Regions from separate parts of the Homo sapiens genome. Here regions 1, 2, 3 and 5 are each linked to region 4. The links are contacts of gene promoters, found by promoter capture Hi-C in blood cells and fetal thymus (Javierre and others, 2016). All regions are on one chromosome and are shown on one strand. Each heading gives the region's core, a stretch centred on a gene start or on the middle of the fragment in contact. The rest is flanking DNA. Distances are from core to core; before and after follow the strand shown.

Region 1 (4,972 bases), core at 2,281-4,780, 530 kb before region 4:
TTCTATTAGCAGAGTCATAGTTTTCTATTTTGTTCAATGGATTACAAATCATTACTATGCTGATGCTCAGGTTGTCTCAGATTTACCCCATGTAAATCCCTTACAGCTGGCTTATGTATCCTTTTTTAAGGCCTTCCTTGCTTTCTGGTTTATCTTGTACTTTTTTTTGCTCTGCCATGGAATCAGTCATCTCTCCAACGAGTCCTGGCTTCTTTCGGTGGAGAATGTAGTGCCTAGACCTCGAGGTCAGGTATGTGCACTGGGGGAAGAGGGGAACTGCTGCTCCAAGGCTTGCTTAGTAGAGAGAGCTAGGGAGTGTTTGTACACACACACACACGTACATTGACATCTGTATTTCTTTAACTAGGTTGATATTTATGACTTCACACTATCATCTCCTATTCAAACCCAACAGCAGAGTTCATTCTAGTGTTTTCCCTTTCCAATGTGTAACACCTTCCTCCAAAATGAGACAGCTGGCTTCCGCTACCCTTAATATTTTCACGTACAGTGATCAAATCCCTTATCCCTAACTAATCTGCCATTGCCATTCATCCCCTGCATAGATGCATTCCCCACGCCACTTGGGATCTGACTCCTTGTACCAAGCTACATCCCCAGTTCCCACAAGGATACCACCCACACTCACAGGCTGCAAATCCACATGAATCCCTAGCTTGCTCTGTCTTACCTAATGGCCAAATTGTGGGTAAAGGAAAAAGGGAAGGAATTTGGATCTTGTTGGAATTTTACGTAAACACCACAAAGGAAGAGATCATCTGATTTAAACTGATGTATCCCCAGTATCTAAAACAGACTTTGGCATATATGAGGTAATAGTTAGGTCCTTTTTGCCCTTCTACCTTCTGCTATATGAGGATGCATAAGAGGTACCATCTTGGAAGCAGGCAGCAGCCCTCTTCAGACACCAAATCTGCCAACGACTTGACCTTGGACTTCCCAGCCTCCAACTGTGAGAATATCAATTTCTGTTCTTTATAAATTACTCAGTCTCAGGATTTTGCTGGAGCAGCAGAAACTGACCAAGATAAATACTTTCTTACATCAGAAGACACTGGCCAGTAATCCCAGCACTTTGGGAGGCAGAGGCAGGAGGATCACTTGAGCCCAGGAGTTTGAGATCAGCCTAGATTTCATGGCGAAACCCCATCTCTACCAAAAATACAAACAATTAGCTGACACTGTGGTCCCAGCTACTTGGGAGGTTGAGGTGGGAGGATCACTTGAGCCCGGAAGGCAGAAGTTGCAGTGAGCTGAGATCAAGCCACTGCACTCCAACCTGGGTGACAGTGAGACCTTGTCTCAAAAAAATAAAGAGAAAAAAAAAAAAAAAAGACACTGAGACCACTTCAGAAATGGATACAGGTGTGGGAGGAGGCTGAAGCTTACATAACTTTGGGGGCATTCTTCAGAAATTAGGTCTTAGAAGGACTATGCAAATGAGGAACCCTGAGGCTTAAGCAGCAAGTCTGCTTCCTGAAGGAAGTTAGGAGTGAAAGTACCCAGGCCCGGTGCTTGGCACAGAGCAGGCATACAAAACTTCAGGTATTACTTTGAAGAATCCTGTATCCAGCCTCTATATATTAGGCCCTCAACAAATCTCTATTAAATGCTACTGACCTATAACTTGTCACACCCTAGAAAACAGGTTCTAATGAAGTTTTGCTGTTTAACAAAGAATGACACATACGGACTGCCAATAAGGTCTTATCATTTTAATCGATTTTAATGATTATTGCTCATCTGCAAGGATTAATATTGCATTCATTAAAAATCATTCAATACAAAATGAACTTGTTCTTCCCAAGTTGCTCTCCACATGCTCCCTCTGATGCCAGACTTTTTTTTTTTTTTAACAGTGTCCTTTGTTACATGGCTTGACAGAGACAGAGCCCTTACCTATTATTCCTATGGACACGGTAATAGATATGGGATCAAGGGGCAGGTCAGAGGGCAGGTGAATGTGGGTCCCTTCCCTCCAGCAGGGCTAACGTGATGGATACACTGTTGGCCAGGTTACCTCCCCTAACAGATGTGGTGTTCTGATTGGTTGGTTAAGTGCCCGAGGAAAATAGGCCTTAACTGTTAACATCTACAGAGAAGAAAGCATGGTCACACTGGCAAGGAGTAAGAAGGGATTGGGTAAAAGAAAATGGGAGAGAAAAGGGAAAAAAGTTTTGGCAAGACAATTGTTCCCTGCTAAGAAGCTGCAGGGTGAAAGCTTTCCTTTCTTCTATTTTTGTTTTTAATGTCTGTCTCTCTGATCAGTGGAAAAGTGAAAATTTCTAGTATCTAGCACTAACGTATGACCCAACTTTGAGGGATCACAAGCTAGAACAAGTTGAGGATTTAAAATCCTGGATAATTATATACTTAAAGCTCATGAGCATAAAGCTCACTTGACCATGCAGAAATGCTGGGAAGCAGGGTGCATGGCATGGGAATACATCTCCCTGATCTTTGAGAGAGCCTCTCTGGATATTCTTTCAGAGCATGAGCCAGGATGTACTGACTACTTTCTTCACACATCAGTTGCCCTTTATGATCTCAGTTCATAAACTCTTTGTGGTATGTAGCAATCAAAAGTCATATTACTTCTGTAAAACTAACATTATATAGGGTGTATAGTCCCAGACAAATTATATGAAGCTAGATTTTTCTTGCCCTGGCCCAATTTATCATTCCTCCTCCTGCCCACACCTACCTCCCTTTAAATATTTTAGGTTGCAGAAGCACAGCTGACCAGAAATTTGCTCTTAAAGATAAATCCTAAAGATAGAACTCAGTGCTTTATACTGAGTAATGGCTCAAGAAATTCGCCTTCAGCACAAGCTGTATGGTACACAGCTGATAGAATTTGCTGTTGTGGCTCCAGTTCACTGATGCTATGAACTACGGGCTAGAAACAGAGGGACTTAACAGGGCTTGAGACTAGCATTTCTCTAGACTCAGCATCCTTAGCTCCAAAGGTTCAAAAGAGAAATTGGTAACAACTAACCACTCAAGCAATTCCTCAGCATTAACACCAAAAATTCTCCTTAATTTTTCTTTTCTTTTTTTTTTTTTTTGGACAACAGAAATAAATCCTAGAGGACAAAATTAAACTCAATAGAGTGTAGTCTAGTTAAAAACTCGAAAAATGAGCAAGTCTGGTGGGAGTGGAGGAAGGGCTATACTATAAATCCAAGTGGGCCTCCTGATCTTAACAAGCCATGCTCATTATACACATCTCTGAACTGGACATACCACCTTTACGCAGGAAACAGGGCTTGGAACTTCTAAGGGAAATTAACATGCACCACCCACATCTAACCTACCTGCCGGGTAGGTACCATCCCTGCTTCTCTGAAGAAGTGAAAGAGCACTGATTTCAGCAGCTAAGAAATGGGCTCTTTTAAGGCGATTTAGACATTGCAGATTGTTCCACAGAGAAGGTACCTTAGCATTTCCTGTTAATAAGGTACCTAATTAAGACTAAAGTCCCCAGAAATGGTAAAGAAAGAATCACCTTTCTGGGCTGGGAGAGTAAAATCCTTCTTTAGTGACTAGAGTGAGGAACCCTGAACTTCTATTTCATCTAAAGAGCCATGAAGCAAGTTCCTGTGTGGTCTGCAGAACTTGGATAATGAGATGAAAAAACAAGAATGAAATTATAGGAAAAAAATCAAGAGGAAAGGAGTAAGAAGAAAATAAAAGTTATCTTAAAAAATATTTCTTTAGAGTGTGTGGTTCAGGTGGACTGGTCCTTGGTAGTATGGTCCATTAGTATCTGTAAAGAGAGAGAGTGATTGGTTAACACTTATGTCTTCCATATGAGAATTCCAAAAAACAATCGGAAACAGAGCACCTTCTCCAGGGCCCCTCCCCAGCCTGGGTGGGATCCCTGCAGTCATTCCCCAGGGCACCAGTCTCCCTTATTCTTCCACAGGGTCTCTGACAATGCCATTTCTGGTGTTACCGCCTGTTCCCAGGAATGAGTCAGTGTTTTTTCAACCCTGACTAAACATTACAATAATCTGGGGAGGTTTTACAAAATAATGTTTTGTAAATTTGGTCCCATCGCAGACCAAATATATCAGAATCTCTTAGGGTGAGGCCCAGGCTCCAAAATTTCAAAAAAACCCTAACTCCCTGATATCTCCCACAATTTCTCTATCTACCTTGTTAACTGGAACAGTTTTTTTGTTTGTTTGTTTGTTTTTAAGACAGAGTCTCACTCCATCACCCAGGCTGGAGTGCAGTGGCATGATCCCAGCTCACTGCAACCTCCGCCTCCCAGGTTCAAGTGATTCTCGTGCCTCAGCCACCTGAGTAACTGGGATGACAGGTGCCCGCCACCACACCCGGCTAAGAGATAGGGTTTCGCCATGTTGGCCAGGCTGGTCTTGAACTCCTGACCTCAAGTGATCCATCCGCCTAGGCCTCTCAAAGTGCTGGGATTACAGGCGTGAGCCACCGTGCCTGGCCTGGAACAGATTTCTTGTATTCTTCAAAATCAGGTACAACATTTGATCTTTATGTCAGAAGCAGGCTAGCCTGCTTGGTTTAATACTGGGAAAAAGAGCTTTTCACTTGCTTCTCCCCAGGTTACCTGTAATAATTAGGTTTGAATGGCCCATTTTTGTTGAGTCCCAGATATTTTGCTTGGTCATCTGTCAGCTCTGTAAGGTGGGCATCAAATGATGGCAGATGCAAGCTGGCAACGTATTCATCTAGGAAGAGCAAAGTGGCAGGAGAGCAGACTCCTTTTCAAAATGTCTCTCAAGTTATAACTTCCCATTTTCATTTGAAGCTTTTTTAAGAAAGCAGACAAGGGATGGAATAACTCTGAAAGAATCCACAACTTGAAATATTTGCTTAATTAAAAAAAAAACCTCAAAGCTGCCTTTCTGGGCAGGATGCTTCTCTCAGCACATGTACAGTGCGTTCAGAAAAGCCACTTACCAGGGTA
Region 2 (5,029 bases), core at 2,203-4,702, 910 kb before region 4:
CAGGCGTAAACCACCATACCAGGCCTGAAAACTACCATGCCTGGCCTGAGAATCCTTTAATCACTGATCTAGCTTTGAGATAATTTGAGATATCCTTGGGCTACACTGGCCAATACTGTGGCCACTAGCCACAGGTGGCTGCTGAGCACTTGAAATGCGGCTGGTCTGAATTGAAATGTGCTGCTAACTGAAAAATATACCCTGGATTTTGAAGACAGTACTGGAGAAAAAATATAAAATATCTCATTAGTATTTTATCAATCACAAGTTGAAATAATATTTTGAATATATTGTTTGAATAAATAAAATGTTATTAAAATTAGTTTCATCTGTTTTACTTTTTTTTGAGACAGTCTCACACTGTAGCACAGCCTGGAGTGCTGTGGCTCAATCTCGGCTCACTGCAACCTCCAGCTCCCGAGTTCAAACGATCCTCCTGCCTCAGCCTCCTGAGTAGCTGGGACTACAGGCACGCACCATCACACCCAGCTAATTTTTGTATTTTTAGTAGAGATGGGGTTTCGCCATGTTGGCCAGGCTGGTCTCAAACTCCTGACCTCAACTGATCCACCCATCTCGGCCTCCCAAAGTGCTAGGATTACAGGCGTGAGCCACTGCACCCTGCCCTGTTTTACTTTTTTTTTTTTTTTTTTTTTTTTTTTGAGACAGAGTCTCGCTCTGTCGCCCAGGCTGGAGTGCAGTGGCGCGATCTCGGCTCACTGCAAGCTCCGCCTCCCAGGCTCACACCATTCTCCTGCCTCAGCCTCCTGAGTAGCTGGGACCACAGGCGCCCACCACCACACCCGGAGAATTTTTTGTATTTTTAGTGGAGACAGGGTTTCACCGTGTTAGCCAGGATGGTCTCAATCTCCTGACCTCGTGATCCACCCGCCTCGGCCTCCCAAAGTGCTGGGATTACAGGCGTGAGCCACCGCGCCCGGCTGTTTTACTTTTTTTAATGTGGCCACTAGACTATATTGCCCAGGCTGGACTTGAACTCCTGGGCTCAAGGGATCCTCCTGCCTCAGCCTCCTGAGTAGCTGGGATTATAGGCACGTGCCATTTCACCAGGCAGTACTTATGTTTTCTAATGCTAAGTTTTAAACTGCTTTTTCTAAAACTTATATGGCCTGTACTGTGTTACCCCTAACTTAACATGAATAATTTCTCTAGAGCAGGAGTCCAAGACCCCTGAATTATAACATTCAAACTGGAATTTTGGCTGGGTGCAATGGCTCATGCCTATAATCCCAGCACTTTGGGAGGCTGAGGTGGGCGGATCGCTTGAGGTCAGGAGTTTGAGACCAGCCTGGCCAACATGGTGAAACCCCATCTCTACTAAAAGCACAAAAATTAGCCACGTGTGGTGGTGCATGCCTGTAATCCCAGCTACTCGGGAGGCTGAGGCAGAAGAATCGCTTGAACCAGGAGGCAGAGGTTGCAGTGAGCTGAGACGGCGCCACTGCACTCCAGCCTGGGCGATAGAGCAAGACTCTGTCTCAAAAAAATAAAGAAATAAACAAACTGGAATTTCAAGGAAGCTGCAAGCTTCACTATGACAGCTGCGGAATAAAAAGGGACTCTGAATGCCAGTGCAGTGTATTGGACTTTGGTTCAATACCAAAGTCTGGTATCTTCCGATCTGGGAGCTGGGCCCCAGATTGGAAGGTAGGCTGTGAGTAAAAAGCTGGAGGTGACAGAGTTGGAAGAAACTTAGTGCAAGGAATGATCCACAGAGGGGGTGAGGCTTACCAATTTGAGTAAATTAGCACCACTTTTTCGGGAGGCAATTTGTAAGTATGTATCAAGAGTCTTAAAAAATGATCATGTCCTTTAACCCAGTCATTCCATTTCTAGTAACTTATAAGGAAATTTTAAAACTGCACAGATATTTAGCTATGAGGATATTCAACCAGCATTGTAATAGCTAAAACAAAAAACAAACAAAAGCAAAAAAAAAAAAAAAAGTCCAAGTACAGTGGCTCACCTGCAATCTCAGCGCTTTGGGAAGCCAACGAGGGAGGGTCACTTGAGACTGGGCTACACACTGAGACTCCATCTCTACAATTTTTTTTTTAATTAGCTAGGTGGGGTGGCGGGTCCCTGTAGTCCCAGCTTCTTGGGAGGCTGAGGTGGGAAGATCGCTTGAACCTAGAAGGCTGAGGCTGGACTAAGCCATGATAGTGCCACTGCACTCCAACCTTAATCCACAATTAAGATACAGCTATAAAATGGAATATTTTGCAACTACTACAAAGGATGTAAGTGAAAACTTGACATGGAAAGACATTTATTCTAAACTCTGTAAAGAAGGCCAGCTACAGAATTGTACCTCCAGTATGTATGTCAATTTTGCTTACAAAACAAACAAAACAAAAAAAACCATGCTAGGCGTGGTGACTCAGCCTGTAATCACATTTTGGGAGGCTGGAGTGGGAGGATCTGTTGAAGCAAGGAGTTTAAGACCAGCCTGGACAACACAGCGAGACCCCCATCTCTACAAAAAAACGTAAAAATTAGCCAGACATGATGGCTCGAGGCTGTGGTCCTAGCCAGTCGAGAGGCTGAGAGGTGAGGATAGCTTGAACCCAGGACGTCCGGGTTGCAATGAGCTATAATCGTTCTACTGCACTACAGCCTGGGTAACAGAGCAAGACCCTGTCCCCCAAAAAATTTATTTTAAAAAGGCAAACGAAAAAACATTAAAAGTATACATTTACAAAGACAACTATCTGAAAGGATATTCTCCAAGAAGTTAAAAGTCGTCTTTGGACAGTGGGGCCATAGATGTTTTCCTATTTTTACCAGCTTTATAATTAATTTTTAAAAGTTATTTTCAAGTAGTCCTACCCAGTCTTCCTTACGAGTTAGGACTCAAATGCCACTCTCTTCCCCTAAACTGTCCTGAGTCCCCTCACCATAATAAGCACCAATGTCTTCGTTAAAATCCCGACACTGCCAACACTCAGCTAGGGGGTTGAACCTTGCTCCATCTCGTCCTTTAGTCTCTGTGTGCGTCTTTCCCCCTACAAGCCTACTGACCCCCTCCAAGAGGTCCCGTGTCTTCCCCGTACTTGCCCCACAGGCTAGATCAGACCCTGTCTGACCCCTGGGTTATTGTAAAACTTAAGATCTGTCCCCTAGGTCTCGGAGTCGGTTGAACTAGGGTCCAAAGGTTAAAAAACACTGACACAAAATGCCAGGCCACGAACTGAAGCACTGAGGCCCGGCTGCAGACCTCTCCCGAGAGGGGAATAATCCGTGCCGGCCGGTTCCGCCATGGAGCCAGGTGCAGGTCACCTCGACGGTCACCGCGCGGGGAGCCCAAGCCTTCGTCAGGCTCTGTGCGACGGAAGCGCAGTGATGTTTTCCAGTAAAGAACGCGGACGTTGCACCGTGATCAATTTTGTCCCTTTGGAGGCGCCGTTACGGTCCACGCCCCGCTCGCGTCAAGTGACTGAGGCCTGTGGTGGAGAAGGACGTGCCGTGCCGCTGGGTTCTGAGCCGGAGTGGTCGGTGGGTGGGATGGAGGCGACCTTGGAGCAGCACTTGGAAGACACGTGAGTAGTGCGCGCCTCTTCGGCCTGTCCTGAGGTCGCGGCGGAGGAACTTGAGCGGAACGAAAGGCGCGAGCTGCGAGTACCGGCCAGGGCGTCTCGGGGACGTCGCGCGACCCCCGGGACACGGGATGAGGGGGCTAAACTCTACCCAAGGCCGCAGGGCGGGGCGGGTGACCCGGAATTAAAATCCTGCCGGGCACCGCACATTCCCTCTTGAGCGAGTCTCCCGGGCCCAGGCCACGGGCCAAAACTGCCTATCTCGTTGTTGAAATCGTCTTTACGGTCAGGGTGGTTCTGCGGAAGTTTTAGAAAACGGGTTGACTTTTGGGAAGATTGTGCCAGTTGTGCAGTGTCGAGCCCTGCAGTGTAAACAAACACGTATCTCCTGTGTGTAACCTATCAGTTACTTGGTGCTTAAGTAGATAAAAATCATTCTTTAAATTTTTCGAACAAGCAGTATCTATGTAAAATTCAAAACTGGAAAAGTGTAAAGGGTACAGAGAGACACCTGCCTCCCACCGATGTCCCTCAGCTTCCACTTACCCTCCAGGAGGTAACTTGAGTTTTTCAACAGTTGTTTTAAATGAGTTAGTACTAAAACATGCGTTTTTAACAAGAGTGAAAACATCCTAGATGTTTTTCACGCAGTGTTTGTGGCCCTCCAGAACTCAGCAGTACTTAGCACATTTTTTTCTCTCATCAGAGAGAAACTGGTTTATTTCAATTAATTAACTAGAACTTAAATTTTTTGTGTTCTTTTTTTGAGACGGAATTTCGCTCGTCTTCCAGGCTGGAGTGCAATGGCGTGATCTCGGCTCACTGCAACCTCCGCCTCCCAGGTTCAAGCGATTCTCTTGCCTCAGCCTCCCGAGTAGCTGGGATTACAGTCATGCGCCACCACGCCTGGCTAATTTTGTATTTTTAGTAGAGACGGGGTTTCTCCATGTTGGTCAGGCTGGTCTTGAACTCCCGACCTCAGGTGATCCGCCCACCTGGGCCTCCCAAAGTGCTGGGATTACAGGCGTGAGCAACCGCGCCCGGCCCTAGAACTTAATTTTTTTCTTAGGGTGTGACAATGAAAAAAGATTGAGAAATATTGATTTAAAGCACTTAATGCCTGGTACATAGAACACCTGTATGTTTGTACTTATTTAAATCCTTTTTCTCCCATTATGTACTTCAACTCTCTTGTGTTCCTGGAATTAGAATGAAGAATCCCTCCATTGTTGGAGTCCTGTGCACAGATTCACAAGGACTTAATCTGGGTTGTAAGTATCTCTCATACCAACTATTTGATGAATTGCATAGCATCTGATGTTGACTTGGAGCCTAGCGTGCTATTATTTTCTAGCTTTTATTTCCTGTTACCTTGCCAGGTCTTTCTGAGTTTGAGAGTAGAGATTATCTCCAAATAACAGTATCAGAAAATTGAAACTTTTCAGTTGGTATTTATGAAGGAAGATGTTCCT
Region 3 (4,934 bases), core at 2,244-4,743, 660 kb after region 4:
TATATTTTGAGCAGCTCTCCACATCACTTAGAATAAACTATCGCTTCATTTTTGATGACTGTACTATATTTCATTATACTAATGTACTCTGACACATTTAGACAATCTCTTATTGATGGAGATTTAGTTTTTTCCAGTTCTTTGATATCATAAACACTGCTTCAGGTAACATCATTTGACATGCAAACATTTGTAGTTGATCATTTCCTTAGAATAAAACCCTAGGATTGCAGTTAATGGTTCAAATGGTACATGCTGAAAATTCTGATAATCTGGCCTTTAGGAAGTCCATGGGGGTTTATAGGCTGAGGGCAGTGCGTGGGAATGTTGGTGTCCCCAGTTTGAGCCTACCCCAGACATTTTTTTCTTTTTCCAACTTTTGCCAAATGCATAAGTGAAAACTGATATCTCATTATTTTAATCTTGCTATTTTTGAAACTCAATCTATTTTCATATGTTTCTTGGCCACTCGCACCTCCTCCTTGACAATATTGATATTTTAAGTTGTTTACAAAACTGAAACCACCATCAATTAAAAAAAATGTAGATAGACAACTGAGAAAATATTAAGGGCAAATAATGTTCATTGTTGAGAACTTCATTATATCAAATGCTGTGACAAATTCCCCAAGGAGCAGAACTGTGGTTAAGAACACAAGCATACTGGCCGGGTGCAGTGGCTCGCGCCTGTAATCCCAGCACTTTGGTAGGCCAAGGCGGGTGGATCACTTGAGGTCAGGAGTTCGAGACCAGCCTGACCAACATGGTGAAACTCTGTTTCTACTAAGACATACCAAAATTAGCTGGGTGGGGTGGTGTGTTCCTGTAGTCCCAGCTACTTGGAAGGGAGGCTGAGGTGGGAGAATCACTTGAAATTGGGAGGGAGGTGGAGGTTGCAGTGAGCCAAGATTGCGCCACTGCACTCCAGCCTGGGCAACACAGAGAAACTCCATCTCAAAAAAAAAAAAAAAAAAAAAAGAACACAGCATACCAGTCAGATAGGTAAAAGTTAAAATCCCAGCTTTCCCACTTACTCATGATGCAACCTTGCCAAATTGCTTAAATCCGCCAGGCCTCAGATCACTCACCATTAAAATGGCGACAACGTGCCAGGATGGTTGGAAGTATTAAGGAGACTATAAGGGAAGCACCTGGCACATCATGAACAACTAGCAAATGGTAACAGGAAAACACTGAAACCCTCCAAGAAAATTAATGGACAAAGGACATGAGCTAAAAAGTCACAAGTAAGGCCGGGCGCAGTGGCTCACACAATTACTCACAATTAAAGTAATCCCAGTACTTTGGGAGGCCGAGGTGGGCGAATCATGAGGTCAGGAGCTCAAGACCAGCCCGGCCAACATGGTGAAACTGTCTCCACTAAAAATACAAAAAATTAGCTGGGGGTAGTGGTGGGCACCTGTAATCCCAGCTACTTGGGGGGCTGAGCCAGAAGAATTGCTTGAACCCGGGAGCTGAGATTAGGCCACTGCACTCCAGCCTGGGCAACAGAGTGAGACTCCGTCTCAAAAAAAAAAAAAAAAGTCACAGGTAGGAAATACAACCAATAAATCAGCATATAGGAACAGACTTATTTCCTTTAGTCACAGAGGAAATGCAAATTAACACAAAAGGTGACACACCCCTCCCTTCAATTAACAGAAACATTTTCAAGTGATAATTCCTGATGCAGAGGAAGGTGTGGTCAAACTGAGCCGTCCACACTGTTGGTGGCTGTGAAATCTGTACAACTTTTGTGGAAAGCAATTTGGCAATATGGGTCATCACACAAACATGTTCGCAACCTTTGGCCCAGACATTTCCTCAGGAAGTAATCCAAGATGTGGAAAAAGCTATGTGTACAATGATGCTTCTGCCATTGTTTATAATGATGGGAAAAGTACATTTATTTTTTACTTACATAAAGGGTAAGACCTTAGTCAAAAATACACAGTGGGTGGTAACAGCCCTCACAGGTCAGTGGAGTAATTGTTTTGTGTTAAAGAGGGACATATAACCAATCATTTAGGCCCCCAGACAGTCCCTAAACCCTGTTTTAATTCATAGTTGAATATATTTATTTAGAAAGGCTTTTAGAGCTCTACTAGCCAGCGGTCAGATTAATAGATCTAAAAATTATGTTCCTAAATCTGTTCATTATCTGGCGAAGCTTGGAGTAATTTGAAACTAAGGGAAAGATAAAAAGGGGAGAGTATTCTGTCATCTGTACACCAGATTTTAAAATCTGTTTAGAGGAGGAAGGAAGCAAGCCAGGGTGGAAACTTCCATTCTTCAGCCCAGGCCATTAGAGGCGCAGCCCCGACTGAGTGACACATCAGAACTAAGGATGGGCTCTTTCTTCTTTCCCTCCTGTCCCCCTGCGCCTCCCTTTCCCCAACTGGAGGAGAGGTTTGGCGAGTCTCTCTGCCTGAGGTGGCAAGTTCAGCCGGACCTCAGCTGCTTGCTGGGCTGTGCGTGTGCAGCCGCGGCGTGAGTCACATCCTCTATCACATCTCCATCTGTGTGCTTTGTGGCGCAGGAGGATCCCAACGGCACTCCAAGAAGGCAGGATTGTGCAGAGATGACGGCACCCAGTCCGAGCTGTGCCTTCTGTCGCAGGCTCCTTGAATGGTGAGGGCTTCTTGTGGCTACATTCCCAGGGTGGATTGGAGTCAGTCCTGGCATAGTAACTCCAGTGAGAGTGGGCGGCAACTAACTGAGGCCACTGGCTGAGTTATAGAGTCACAGATCTCAGGCCTGGGCACAGAGCCCAGCCTCCCTCGCACCCTACAGATCCTCTAGCAGTGGTCCTCAACTGGGGAGACCATCAAAATCACCATGGGAGATTTTACAATCATGCACATGCCTCCATCCCACCTACTGTCTCAGCATCGCCAGCGGTGGGGCTCTGGTAGGAATATTGCTTTTAAATCTCCCCAGGTGATTCCGATAAGCCCCCTTGGTTAAGAATCATGGTTACAGCCCACGGAGGGTGGTCCTGTAGGCTTTTGATCATTGCCCACATGGGGGATTCTTATCCTGTATAACAAACAGCTCCCACCATCCCTACTCTCTCCTTATGATGAGCAAAAGTCTTCTCTGTTGGGTTTCACCTGAGCCCCCCAGTCCCAGGAACAAGCCTCATCCCTCTTCTCAGGGCTGATTTCTTCCCATTCCTAAGGACGAAATCTTCCAGAGCTAACAAGCTGTAAATCATGTAAAATCCTCAGGAGAAATCCTTTGTTTTTGAAACACCCATTGGTGCAACTATTAATCTGTGTCGATTCAGTATCATTTATTTGAAGCTTCTTTCAGGTAGCGAGAGATGTTACCTCTAAGCTCACTGTGGACTCCGGCCAAAGCTCGGCTCATTGACCTTTGGAAGGTCAAGAGTCAGGGAGGCAGCAGGTGTTTAGCAACCACTGTTATATGTACGTAATGGATTCTAATAGAAGCAGATGACAGGGTCTGAAAGACTGAGGCTTCCTGTTAGAAAGCATTCCATTGTGGGAATGGGCACCTGCCTTAAGAGTTCTAATGAGTGTCCACCCCTGAAAAAAGAAACTGCATGAAGCTCGTGCTAAAAATGGTCATGTGTCATTGTGTGTGGGTCATTAAACCACCATGTCAGTCATCAGCTTTGAGCTGCCCTTTAATCCAAGGGGCACTCATGAAGCTTACTCACTGAGTCATCCCAGGCCTACTATTTTTATTTATTGAATTAAAGTCTAATTTTGGATTTTTAAAGGTTTTACTAAGTATAATGAAAGTATTTTGACATTAAAGAACCATTTTTATTAAGCACTCAAGGTACTAAATTTCTCTCTTCTAAATTCCTAGTCTAGACCCTACAGAAGTACATTAAGTACCAAGACAGGGACCAATGTTCCAGACTAAATAATACTTTTTTATGATAGACAAGCTGGAAAGACAAGCACAACCAAGTGTAAAATCAAATCTCACAGTGAATCCACTGCTGGGGAGTGATGAGAAGATACACATGACTTATGAATTAAAATCTTGTAACTTACATAATCCCTGAGGAATTATTGATTGAAGGGAGGACTATATATTCTTTCTGTTAGAAGATTAAATCTCTCTCTGATGGGACTTGTCCTTTATGAAGCTTGCTGAGGTACATACTGTTTTCAGGATATTTGTAAATTGTTTATATATAAGTGGATAAATTACATATGTATAAAATGTAAAATATGCTTATCCCTTTATGTTATTTCTGATGCAAAACTTTGGATTTAAGTGTGTACTTTAGCTGCTTTGTCTTGTTGAAAAACTGTCTTCTCCAGAGGAATTATGTTTGGCCAGAAGATTTGAGTACACAAAGGAGTTTAAAAGCAGAAAAAGTCCTGTGTTGGACTGCATGCACTTGAGTGAGATCCAAGTTTCCCACTTTGGAGAGCAGATGTTCAAATGCCCCAGAGGAGAAGGGTGGAGACAGAAAATGAGGTGTGAGAAAATATGTGACTCAAGAGGACAGCATGTTTTTCCAAGAGGAGGGAAAGAGCCTGGCTTCTCAGCCCCAGCCCCACAAACCCGCAGCCCCATCCCTTCTCCGCCAACAGCAGGCCAGGGCACAGCGCGGCGAGCATGTGTTTGCCCAGCAATGCCTTGGGCTCAAACCCTAGCCCTGGGCAATCTGCCTCATTTATGCCAGGATATCTCGGGCACAGTGCCTTCCATACTAAGAATGAACAACTTTCCCTGGGGGCTATGACTGTATCCCAGGAGCTTAGCAAGAGCTTTGTTCAGAACTGTTATTAATTCGAATTCCTTTGGAGGAGTTGGGATTTCTGAGGAGGAGGGAGGAAGCTGCAGGTGGGCCACAGGAAGGCTCCTGAACAATGTCCATTGCAGTTGCTTCTTTCTGACGCCACCTGGTGGCCATGTGCAACTAAAATCACCTTCACGTGCTCCCT
Region 4 (5,731 bases), core at 113-2,612:
GACCGGATAACACCTCTCCCCCCTTCTCCTTTCCGGCCCCAATGGAGAAAGAAATTATCTTCCATGCCCTCCCGCCCTTTTCAACCATCTGACAACTGCCTATGGCCCAGCCCTCCAGGTTTCCCAATCCCATAGGCTGCAGGGAAAGATGAGCCCTAGATGTTTCCTCCACCTGTCTTAGCCTTAGAAAGGCTGAGCTTTCTGAAAGCTGGGTGCTTCCCTGGGAGAATGAGGTGAGGAATACCCAAACAAATCAGATAGAAGCCTAAACTCACCGCCAAGGCCATGAATACAGGGTGCCAGGAGAAAAGACCTAAGAATCAAAGAGAACAGGCTGAGGGCTTGGTACCATTGTTCCTGCCCCTGTAGCTAGGTGGAACCCAAAGAATCTAGCCACAGGAGAAAAGTACCATCCCCAATCCTAATCGGGCACAGGAACTAAGGACAAAGTGGAGCAGCCAAGGAGCCCCAGGGTGAGCAACCAAGAGGGCCTCCTTATCCACACACATACAACAGTTTGGCCCGGGTTCCCCGTTCAGCACCTCTCAGCTGGCAGCCCAGTCCTCTGCCCCTTTTTTGTTTTTTGTTTTTTTTGGTTGTTGTTTTTTGTTTTTTTTTTGATACGGAGTCTCGCTCTGTCGCACAGGGTGGAGTGCAGTGGTGCAATCTCGGCTCACTGCAGCCTCCACCTCCCGGGTTCAAGCGATTCTCCTCCCTCAGCCTCCCAAGTAGCTGGAACTACAGGCGCGCGCCATCACGCCTGGCTAATTTTTGTATTCTTAGTAGAGACGGGGTTTCACCATGTTGGCCAGGCTGGTCTCGAACTCCTGACCTCAAGTGATCCACCCGCGTCGGCCTCCCAAAGTGCTGGGATTTCAGGCATGACCCACCGCGCCCGGCCTCCTTCACTTCTATCCTCCATCAGGGGACCTGTTTCTGAGGAAGTAGTTCGGTCTGTTCAATCGTCTGCCCTTCCCCCACAGCACCCAAAACCCCATTATTCCAGGATCCCTGGGGCCCCGCCCCACCAGGCCCTCAAAATCCCTCCACTGTTTCTGTCTCCCCTTTACTGCTGGGGTCCCTCCTCCAAGTCTCCCGGGGCTCCCAAGCGCTGCCCCTCCAGCATCTCCACTCCGCCCCCTTCCGCAACCCCGCCCCGCACACTCACTGGTTCCTGGCCGGGACAGCGCTGTCAGAAAGATGGTGAAGCCCAAAGCTACCAGGTGCGCCAAGATCCCACTGCCTCTCCGCAGCCAGCGGGTCAGTCTCGGCTCCCCAGCTGGAGCGGGAACCAGACCTACCTCCAGGGGCTGCATGGCCGTGGCCCGCGGGCCCGTACACTCCAGCTGCCCGAACACGTCTTCCGGGTTTGCGATCGCGGAGGCGGTGGCGGCTGCAGGAGAGGCTCCTCCCCGGGGACGCCGCCGGCAGTGCGGCGGAGTGGCCCACAGCGCCCTCTGGGGGCTGGGGGGGAAACGCGAGTGCCCCGGAGAGGCCCGCTCCCGCGAGAGCCCGGAGGCAGAAGGGGACCGAACAGTTCCCAGCCCACCTTCATTTGTATCTGTGTGTCTGTCTACAAGGGCCTAAATCCCAAGCAGCCTGTGGAAATTACTTTTGTGGCAAACGATTTCAGTGAAACCCCAAATCACACACTTGGTACGCTGAACCAAGACTGTGAAACAAGTGTTTGGAGCCGATTTCTAGTAGTACTGGATTTCCCTGGCTGTGCACTGTCTCCTGTCACCTCATTTTGTCTTGTTCAGGGAACAAGCTTCCTCCATGCCTAAGAGCAAGGAGAATAGGAAAGGACATCGCCAAAATATAGTGCCTTGAACCTGGTGGACCAAAGGAGGGAAATGCAAGTCTCCTCTCGCATCTGCACGGGAGTGGTCCCCAGCGAGATAAATGGAAAAACTAGGGCACTCCCAGCCCTGCCGCCTCCTCAGCAGCTGCTCAGCCCTGAGGAGCCAGGTGATCCTGAAGGACCAAGGCCTCCCACACTCCTGTGGCCTCCCACACCACCAGTTCTGCAAGTGATGATGCCTTTTCCCTTCCTGCCTCCAAAAAAGGGGTGGTTCAACCCAAGGAGGCCTCCCTGGGAAAGGTTCTACCCCTTCCTTAAAGGCAAACCCACAGGCAGGGAAGGAAGGCTGTCCAATAGAAAACAGGAATATCCCAACAGCAATGACCAACCCAGCTCAAGCTCCCTAAGTGGCTGAGAAAATGAGGCTGCAGGAACAGCTGAAGAAAAGCAGGCAATAATTCAGGGAGGGATGGATGCCTAGGGTTGCTGAAGGACCAGAAAAGGGTCACAAGCCAATTCCCAGACCCTCGGGGCAAGGATCCTAGAAAGAGCCAGAAGTGCAGCTCCCCCTCTCGAGTTTCTCTTCCCAATGGGACCATAGTCGTCTCTGGTGTCAAGACTCAGGAAGCCTTACTCATTCAGAGCCACACGCCTCATCATCCTGTCTGGAAAGACTACCCCAGTGACACAAACATTTTTCACACTATTGAAAATGACAAGATGACAATAATAATAATAATGAGCATAAGAGACTTTTGCAGGCAAGCTATGGGAGCTGGAGTCTGGCTGCCTATCATCTCAGCCTCCCAGGGTAGGGCTGGGGACAGTAAGGACACTCATTTTGTTATTTTTTTTCCTTCCTTTTCTATGTTTCTGTTTTTATATTTTCATAGCAGCAACAGAACAGGGAGACAGTCTTGAGGTATTTTAAAGAGCTTTTTTTCTTAAAAAAAAATAATATAAAGTTATAAAAAGCGGCAGCAGCCTGGGGCCCGGATCTGGAGGGGAGGAGGTGCTGGCGGCTCCGTTGCAGTGGGCAGGCACTTTCTCGTTAATGGGCTTTTGACTGCAGGAAGACAAGAGGCGAGAGAAAGGGTCAGGGTGGGGGCCTACCAGCTGTCCTACCCAGTGAACTGTGTGCACTACAGAGGCTAAAGCTTGATTTCCTTCTGCTGGCCTGGTGAGTAAAACTGAGCAAGGGGGAAGATGAATGCCAGCTCACCAGGGGCAGCCTGGGTAGTGAAGCTGGAGAACACACAGGGTTTATGATTAGGCCCACATCTAACCCAGGAGAGCACCCCCGTCCCACCTCCAGTAAGTCCCTCCTGGCAGAGATCATATGGAGAGCACATAGCACACTACACCAGGGCTCCCACCAGAAGAGGCAAATAAAACTGGCTGCAGGCTTTACTGGAAACCCTGGAGAACTTGCCTGTCACCTGCACACCTGGAGGTGGGCACATGTGCATAAGTGGACATGGGGTTGTGTGCCTGCCCTTCAAGGCCCTGATGCCCAGAGGAAAAACCAGTGAGACCAGCCCACCCACCTTGCTGCTCGGCATGTTAGGCTGTGACCCAGGGACTCAAACTCCCTTTCCTTCAGGGAACAGAGGTAGCTCCAGTACCTGGAATGAGGGTCACAGCCAATTCAGAAAGAAGTAGCCCTTTGATTATAGCAAAAGCAGGGGTGGAGGGGTGCCGCATCTCCTCAGCCCAAGGGAAAGGGTTAGGGATAGGGGAAGGTTCACCAGGCAAAAAGCTGGAGTCACTTTGCTAAGAACTGACCTACCTCTTCCTAAAGAAAACAGTCCAGGAACTCTCTCAACTTCCCCTTCCTCCCTTTCCCTGCACAAACACCAATGTAGCATCTTCTCTGTATCAGGTACCCCCTGTGTGCCCCACCCTCATCAATCTTCAGGGAGCCTGGCTGGTACCTTCAGTGTAGAGCACTTCTCCTCAAAGGCCAGGGCCGGGCCTGGCTTCTTGCGGCGCACAGAGCAGGCCACATCAGCAGGGGCACCAGCCTGACAGTGCTTGGCCTTCACTGGCCGGCAATAAGTGGCCAGGTTTTTCCGCTTCTTGGCCACCTCCTCCTCAGAGAGGCAGTTGGTTGGCAGGGCCTTGGCTGGGTGTCCAGCTGCTCCCCGGTTCTCCAGCTGAGAAGCCTTGACTGGTGTGGGGAGCTGATGAGGGGAGCCACGACAGTCCAGGGGCCCTGCCCGCTTCACTCTTGGCCCCATTGTCCCATTAAGCCCCATGCTCAGGGCTGTTTTAGTTTTGGCCGAGAGGCCCCTACAGCCAGAGGGTTTCCCTTTTCCAGTGGGCTCCAGGATGCAGGTCCGTTTAAGAGTGGTAGGGCCAGGGGATAACTTCCGCTTTCGAGAAGGGGCCTCCACCTCCACCCCGTCCTTGCCTTTGGATGACTTGCTGGCCTTGGAAGGCGGCAGCTTGCTGAAGGACGGGGATGGCGTGTTGGCAGGCAGTGGTGAGGTGATAGCCTGGCTCCCGCCCATGCACTCTGCCTGGCTACAGGCAGCCGCCACGCTGGGGGAGCCTGCAGGGTAGCTGGGGACAAGGTTGTCCTTGGTGGGGGGCATGGAGGCTGGGCAGGCAGGTCTCAGGGTTGGACCTGGAAGGCGGGGGCAGGTGCCTGTAGAGGATGGGCTCAGGGGAGCAGATAACGGGGAGTTGACAAGGTGAGCTGGAGGTTCAGCTGCCGGTGGGATCTTCCTGCAGCAAAAAGAAAGCCCCACTGTGACTGCCAAGAAACAAGACAGCTTCCCCCAACACAAGACACACTCCAGTCTCTCTGCCCCACCTAGAAATGGTCAGCAGAGCCCCAGAGTTGCTGCCATCTGCTGGGAGATGCTGGAACTGAGGGTTAGGAAGAAGACACAGGGGTGCCTGTGGAGAGGAATTAGCTAGTACCTACTAACTAGGAGGCAGCCCACTAGGAACTTCATTTTAAATCTTGGTTTGGGCATCCCCTATCCCTAGTTACCCAAAAGGTACTGGAAGTGATGGATGAAAGTCTAGATTCACCCCCAGACCACCCTTCCATGCCCTGCCTTAGCCAAACTCTAGGCTGCCAAGTTTTCCCACCTCCTTTTCATGCTACTCCCTATCTGGGGTCCTGCTGGCAAATAGCCAAGGCACACCTATGGGTATACAGGAAAGATCAGGGCTTCTGAAGCCCAAGTATGTCTGGAACCTAGGAATTTCCATTCTAGAACTTCCATTCTGGGTCCGAGAGACTTACTTCCACATGTGTGTGCTGAGGTGCCGTTCCAGCATGGAGCTGAGTGCTGAGCAGAACCGGTCCAGCCGGCGGCTAAACACATAGCATCCTGGGCTCACCAGCCGGCTCCCAAAGGTGCAGAACTAAAGGCAGAAGGAAGGTGCATGGTTGGCAGGGTCTGGGGTGCACAGACAGCATCTGCACACAGGATCTGGCCTCCTCCCCATGTTGTTGGCCAGGAGTGCTGGGCCACCCCCTCCATAGGCCCCTATTCCAGGTCCTTACCGCCTGTGGCCGTGGGGGCCGGGTTGCATAATGGCAGTCAGGGGGTGGGTGGAGGTCGTCAGATGTCCCCTCCTCCTCACTCTCTTCGCTGGAGGCCTGGGTCCCACCCCGGGGCATGGGGAAGGGGAACAGGCCTGGGTCCCCATCACCACCACAGGGGCCTTCATCATCCAATTCACTCTCGGAGGAGGCCCGGGACCTGGAAGGGCCAAAAGGGATGCCAGGGGAATGTGACTGTTGTGGGGTCAGAGTAGGGGCATCCTTGAACCTGCCGAGCTCAAAGAGCAGGGCACCAGGGCAGACACCCTGCAGGGCAATCAGAAGAGGACAGAGGGAAGGGAAGGACAGGAGGGAACGACACAGCTCACAGAGTAAGAGACAGAGAGACTGCTCCCAAGGGATTC
Region 5 (5,003 bases), core at 769-3,268, 540 kb before region 4:
GTCAGCATCTTCCTCCAAGAAGGAAGATAAGTGATGTCCCTGACAAGTACTGACCAATGGGGAAACAAAATGCTGTGATACGTGCTTGGACTGCACAAGAGGCCACAGGACACGGTGGTTAAGAAACCAGACCATGGCTGGGCATGGTGGCTCATGCCTGTAATCCCAGTACTTCGGGAGGCCGAGGCGGGTGGATCACCTGAGGTCAAGAGTTTGAGACCAGCCTGGCCAACATGGCGAAACCCCATCTCTACTAAAAATACAAAAATTAGCTGGGTGTGGTGGCAGGCACCTGTAAACCCAGCTACTCAGAAGGCTGAGGCAGGAGAATAGCTTGAAGCCGGGAGGTGGAGGTTGCAATGAGCCAAGTTCACGCCATATCACTCCAGCCTGGGCAACAGAACAAGACTCTCTCTCAAAAACAAAAACAAAAACAAAAAAAACACAAAAACAAAAACAAAAAACCCAGCCATGCACTGGACTGCCACGGTTTGAATCCTGGCTCTAACTGCGCCTTAGTTTCCTCATCTGTAAAATGGGGATGACAGTAGTACCTATATCCTTAACATGAATTAGCACATGTAATATTCTGAGAACAATGCCCGGGACACACAGGCACTCAATGAGCTGTCTTAGCTTTATCATTGATGGTGTTATCCTTAGATGAGCAGCAGCTGACCTGTCCACTGGACAAAGGTGACACAGGCAAGGCCAGGCACTGGTTGAGCCCATATGTCAGTCTTGTGCCTGGCCTCCTGCCAAGGCGGAAACTGCAGGGCGAACACAGCAGTGTCTGCAGGTTCAAAAGAGAGCTCAAAGTGAAGAGTCTCCTTCTGAGGAGCACCCCAGGCCTGGGCAGGGCCTGCACTGTCTGGTGTAAAAACTCTGGCATCAGGGAGCTGCAGGGACCTGTCATTAGTCTCCATTAATCTTCAAGGTGTAAGTGACCAACTCCGTTATTCAACCCAGGTGGTCAGAACACAGCCTGGGACCAGAACTTCTGCCCCATTTAACCCTCTCAAAGCCAGTTAGTTCTGCAAGCTCTGTCCCCCTTCCCATCCCAGCCTCCCCTTCCCTACTCAGCCTCTCAAAAATGCTCACTCTATTTCCATGTTCAGAAGCTCCACCAAAGCATTGAACGTGCCCACCTCCAGGAGGAGAAAGATGTTGTAGCGCATCCAGGACTGCACCTCTGCCTCCGAGCTGCACTCCCCAAACGTGCCTGCAATGCAGGGTTCAACTCACTGAGCCCCTCCCTGCATCTGAGTGGGCAGAGGTGCCAGGGAACCCTGGGGAGGTCCACTCAATACCTTGAGCAACATAGAGAATTGCTCGAGCCACCTTGAGTCTCTTCTCCCTGGCAGTGACTTCCAAGCCATCCAGGAGCCTCATGGCATGGGTCCGGTGCTGGTTGGTATCCAGCTCAGTCCACTTCTTGTCTGTCACTGCAGGGCAAGAAACCAGTTACACCTGAGCCTAGAAAAATCCTCACAATGGCATGGACCCATGTTAACTCACCAAATTCAGGACTGCCATAGGACCAGAAAGATAAGTTACACCCTATGTAAGTGGTAAGATCATACTGCTGCTCTATGAATTTGATTCCAAACTGAAACGCTGGTATTTTGGGTGCAATTTTAATCACATGATTTTTTTTTCTCCCCTAATATGCACATTCTGAAAAGCCCCCACCGATGTGCCACAAGCCCACTCTACATGTATCTGGCTTTGAACCATCAGGGTTCAGCAGGCTTCTCAGGCTGTTCCAGGATGACTCAGGTCATTCAGATGCCTAAAAGAAACCTGCAGCTCTCGTTATGCAGGGCAAAGGAAGCAAGAAGTGTGGGAAATCATCTCACCATGGATCCGGAAGTCCTCCTCAAAGCATTTTCGATTCATCAGGAATTCTGGCCCTTCCGTGTAGCTGTAAAGCTCTGTCAGAACAAAGTCTCGTCACCATTGGTTCCATGTCTGCATTGCACACCAGGTCTCACAAGTGCAGAGAAGGCAAGGCATTTGCTTCCACTCTCAACTCTGCCCCTGAGTCATAGTGACTCCTGGAATAAGCTCTCTAATTATGAAGGGGATCTTAGTGCTCTGATGTGCACAATAGAGACAACCAGAGTGCCAGAATGCCATCTGGACACTTCCAGTCCGATGTGCATCCATCCCACCATGCCATGCCAGGGCTGACGGCCACCTGGGATGCATCTCTCAAATGGCTGCTACCTCTTGAGCAGGATGTGTATTGTAGAGGCTGGAGAAGCAGCTCACACCGACCTCGCATTACATGAGAGTGGCAGTGGCAGCAGCAGATGGGCACAGATGCAGGCATCCCTCATGACCCATTGCTGGAGGAGAGACCACTGTCAGGGTCACAGTGGATAGCCAAGGAACATCACTGTCTCACAATGGGACTGGGCTCTAGCCAGCTTCATAAAAGTAAAGGACAACACAAAGTTATAAGATACACAAGGCTTGAATCAAATAACATGTTTTATACATATATATATATATATATATATATATATATATATATATATATTTGATAGAACTAGGGAAAGCAATGAAGCCCTAAATGATATTCATTATTAATTTTATTAAAGACCAATAAGGAAAAAACCACCCCCAAATAACACAAAGGTCTGTGCGTTACCCGAGAGCTCTGCAGCCCACTTGTCTGTGTCAGCATACTCAAACTCCAGGTCTGGTGACTCCGAATAGCCCTGCTGACAAGAGGAGAGAGCTTTAGGAAAAAGGATCATTCTATTTATCAAAGAAACTCATGCTTCGAGATGCTGTTGTGTTACAGGACACCACTGCCTCCACTTTTTTATGTTTTTTCACATTTTGTTTCCTAAAACCTCTCAGAGTATCCTATACTTTTCCTTCAGAGCATTTATCATAACTTATCATTATAGGATGTGTTTACTGTCTGCCTTTCCACAAGACTGTAAGTTCCCTGAGAACAAGAACATCATCCATTTAACTTACCAATGATTTCACAAGGTCCAGCATGGTACCTGGCATGAATAAGTGAATGAATGAATGGTCTATACACACATATTTGTTAAATGAATAAATACAAGGTTTCTATGTATTTTGTGCAGTAAATGACCATTCCATATGATGCTATGATTCCAGAAGTCTTAACTTCTTTCTGGCTAGTGGACTGTCAACAGCTCAGGACAAAAATGAGTATTGAAACCCTCAGCTTTCCCACCTTTGTCTCAAATTTCAGTGAGAACTGACAAAGAAGGCAGCCGCCAAACAGATCAACTTCCCTCCCACACATAAGAGAAAATGTGACAAAGACAATCTTTTTCCTGCTGGAAATAGGTGATTACTGAGAACACACCATCTTGGAAGCCTTGTACTGGGAAGAGAGAAGTGAGAAACAAATAGGTAAAGTCCTTAGGTTTAATTACAGTCTACCTGGGAAGACAAAGACCAGCCACAAAATGACACAACATACCCACAATGGCCAGGCGAGGTGGCTCATGCCTATAATCCCAGCACTTTGGGAGGCCGAGGTGGGCGGGTCATTTGAGGTCAGGACTTTGAAACCAGCCTGGCCAACATGGTAAAACCCCGTCTCTAATAAAAATATAAAATTTTTTAAAAATATATTTTTACATGGTGGGGCGTGCCTGTAGTCCCAGCTACTCGGGAGGCTAAGGCAGGAGAATCGCTTGAGCCCCGGAAGTGGAGGTTGCAGTGAGCCAAGATCGCGCCACTACACTCCAGCTTGGGAGACAGACAGAGACTCTGTCTCAAAACAAAACAAAACAAAACAAAAAACATACCCACAAACAAGAACTCCACGTTGTGTTCAGAGATAACACAGTGTACACTTTCACAAGTTACTGAGCTTCGGTTTCTTCATTCATTGAATGGCAATGATGAAAATCTACTTTGAAGATTTTTAAGGACTAATCAAAATTATGTAGTACATAGTGGGCTCTCATCAAATGTGAGCCTCCCTGTCCTCCAGGCATTCACTGATCAGGCTCCCAAACTACCGATTTCAGCTATGACTAAAGAAAGATCATGGCATCAGACTCTCTATAAAGAAATGGATTTAGACAGGTCTCTGCTTAAATGTGTCCATTTGACTGGTCTTTCATGTAATGAGTCTATGAGGAAATTTTTTTTTTTGAGACGGGGAGAGTTTCGCTCTTGTCACCCAGGCTGGAGTGCAATGGTGCAATCTCGGCTCACTGCAAATCTCCACCTCCCAGGTTCAAGCAATTCTCCTGTCTCAGGCTCCTGAGTAGCTGGGATTACAGGCACCAGCCACCACGCCCGGCTAATTTTTGTATTTTTAGTAGAGACAGGGTTTGATCACATTGGCCAGGCTGGACAGGAACTCCTGACCTCAGGTGATCCGCCCGCCTCGGCCTCCCCAAGTGCTGGGATTACAGGCGTGAGCCACTGCACCCGGCCTCTATGTGGAAATTAAAGGGTACAAAGAGAAATTACAATTCGTCAGAGGGTATCTATTTGACCATTCGTAGCTACTCTGGAAAATTTTAAACCATTTTTCAAAATGATAACTCCTCTCATGATGAAGGTAGGTTCACCCCCCTGCACTTTCGTAATCTTCCACTTGAAAAACTGAGTAGTTAACACTGATGTCCGTCATCCCACCATGCCAGGGCTCCTAAATGGTCAGTGTTTTTGTTTTTTTCAAATAATTCACTCCAAGCTCAAATTACGTCTACTTCGGGCTTGCCAATTGTTGACATGTTTTCTCAGGGGTTTAGCCTTGCTAACAAAAAATAAAAGCTTCTGAGGAACTGATTCCACAGGTCTAAAGGTAGTATCATTGCTCTTTGGTATGAATTGGTACATTATGCTTGGACAACTAGGAATTCCCTCTCATTAACTTGGCTGATCAGTTTGGCTGCTGATCAATCTAGGAGATGGCATAGTAAGTGCTCTGGGAACCTGCTCATTAAGAAGCCCTAAAACTCCGCGACATGAGTATCTTCATTCATGAA

The links. The method cuts DNA at HindIII sites, captures the fragments that hold promoters and counts their contacts. A CHiCAGO score of 5 or more calls a contact.
Region 1: a fragment that was not itself captured here is called in contact with the fragment with the promoter of CYB561D1 in region 4 in 13 of 17 cell types (non-activated CD4 T cells, erythroblasts, M1 macrophages and 10 more); the score reaches 7.5 in non-activated CD4 T cells.
Region 2: the fragment with the promoter of LAMTOR5 here is called in contact with the fragment with the promoter of CYB561D1 in region 4 in 2 of 17 cell types (fetal thymus and total B cells); the score reaches 6.2 in fetal thymus.
Region 3: a fragment that was not itself captured here is called in contact with the fragment with the promoter of CYB561D1 in region 4 in 1 of 17 cell types (naive CD4 T cells); the score reaches 6.1 in naive CD4 T cells.
Region 5: a contact is called between a fragment that was not itself captured here and the fragment with the promoter of CYB561D1 in region 4, in 4 of 17 cell types (naive CD4 T cells, neutrophils, monocytes and 1 more). The highest score is 7.9, in naive CD4 T cells.

What each region holds. Positions count from the first base shown.
Region 1 is chr1:110,020,492-110,025,463 of GRCh38, reverse strand. AHCYL1 (adenosylhomocysteinase like 1) reads right to left here. Exons shown (of 17, transcript NM_006621.7): 16 at 4,613-4,733; 17 at 1,722-3,790. The coding sequence ends at 3,784. Among named protein-coding and RNA genes, the nearest start is that of STRIP1, 12 kb to the left of the region's middle. The HindIII fragment of the contact is 2,571 bases long and covers 2,245-4,815 here.
Region 2 is chr1:110,406,117-110,411,145 of GRCh38, reverse strand. It overlaps LAMTOR5 (late endosomal/lysosomal adaptor, MAPK and MTOR activator 5), which reads left to right and starts at 3,452. Exons shown (of 4, transcript NM_001382293.1): 1 at 3,452-3,560; 2 at 4,767-4,828. The coding sequence starts at 3,526. LAMTOR5-AS1 (LAMTOR5 and SLC16A4 antisense RNA 1) reads right to left here and starts at 3,337. Exons shown (of 3, transcript NR_102697.1): 1 at 3,192-3,337. RefSeq lists an enhancer at 3,281-3,510. The HindIII fragment of the contact is 8,453 bases long and covers 1,551-5,029 here.
Region 3 is chr1:108,828,256-108,833,189 of GRCh38, reverse strand. AKNAD1 (AKNA domain containing 1) reads left to right here. Exons shown (of 16, transcript NM_152763.5): 10 at 2,540-2,631. All of the region lies in intron 2 of LOC105378891 (a long non-coding RNA gene), which reads right to left. Among named protein-coding and RNA genes, the nearest start is that of AKNAD1, 26 kb to the left of the region's middle. The HindIII fragment of the contact is 371 bases long and covers 3,308-3,678 here.
Region 4 is chr1:109,489,725-109,495,455 of GRCh38, reverse strand. It overlaps CYB561D1 (cytochrome b561 family member D1), which reads right to left and starts at 1,362. Exons shown (of 3, transcript NM_182580.3): 1 at 1,169-1,362; 2 at 276-313. The coding sequence starts at 1,316. ATXN7L2 (ataxin 7 like 2) reads right to left here. Exons shown (of 11, transcript NM_001350175.2): 8 at 5,328-5,526; 9 at 5,064-5,185; 10 at 3,739-4,534; 11 at 2,722-2,870. The coding sequence ends at 2,856. RefSeq lists enhancers at 722-1,222, 1,212-1,291 and silencers at 1,362-1,591, 4,550-4,599. The HindIII fragment of the contact is 3,360 bases long and covers 1-1,773 here.
Region 5 is chr1:110,035,614-110,040,616 of GRCh38, reverse strand. STRIP1 (striatin interacting protein 1) reads right to left here. Exons shown (of 21, transcript NM_033088.4): 2 at 2,657-2,726; 3 at 1,860-1,934; 4 at 1,311-1,445; 5 at 1,102-1,222. Among named protein-coding and RNA genes, the nearest start is that of STRIP1, 3.5 kb to the right of the region's middle. The HindIII fragment of the contact is 5,545 bases long and covers 1-4,790 here.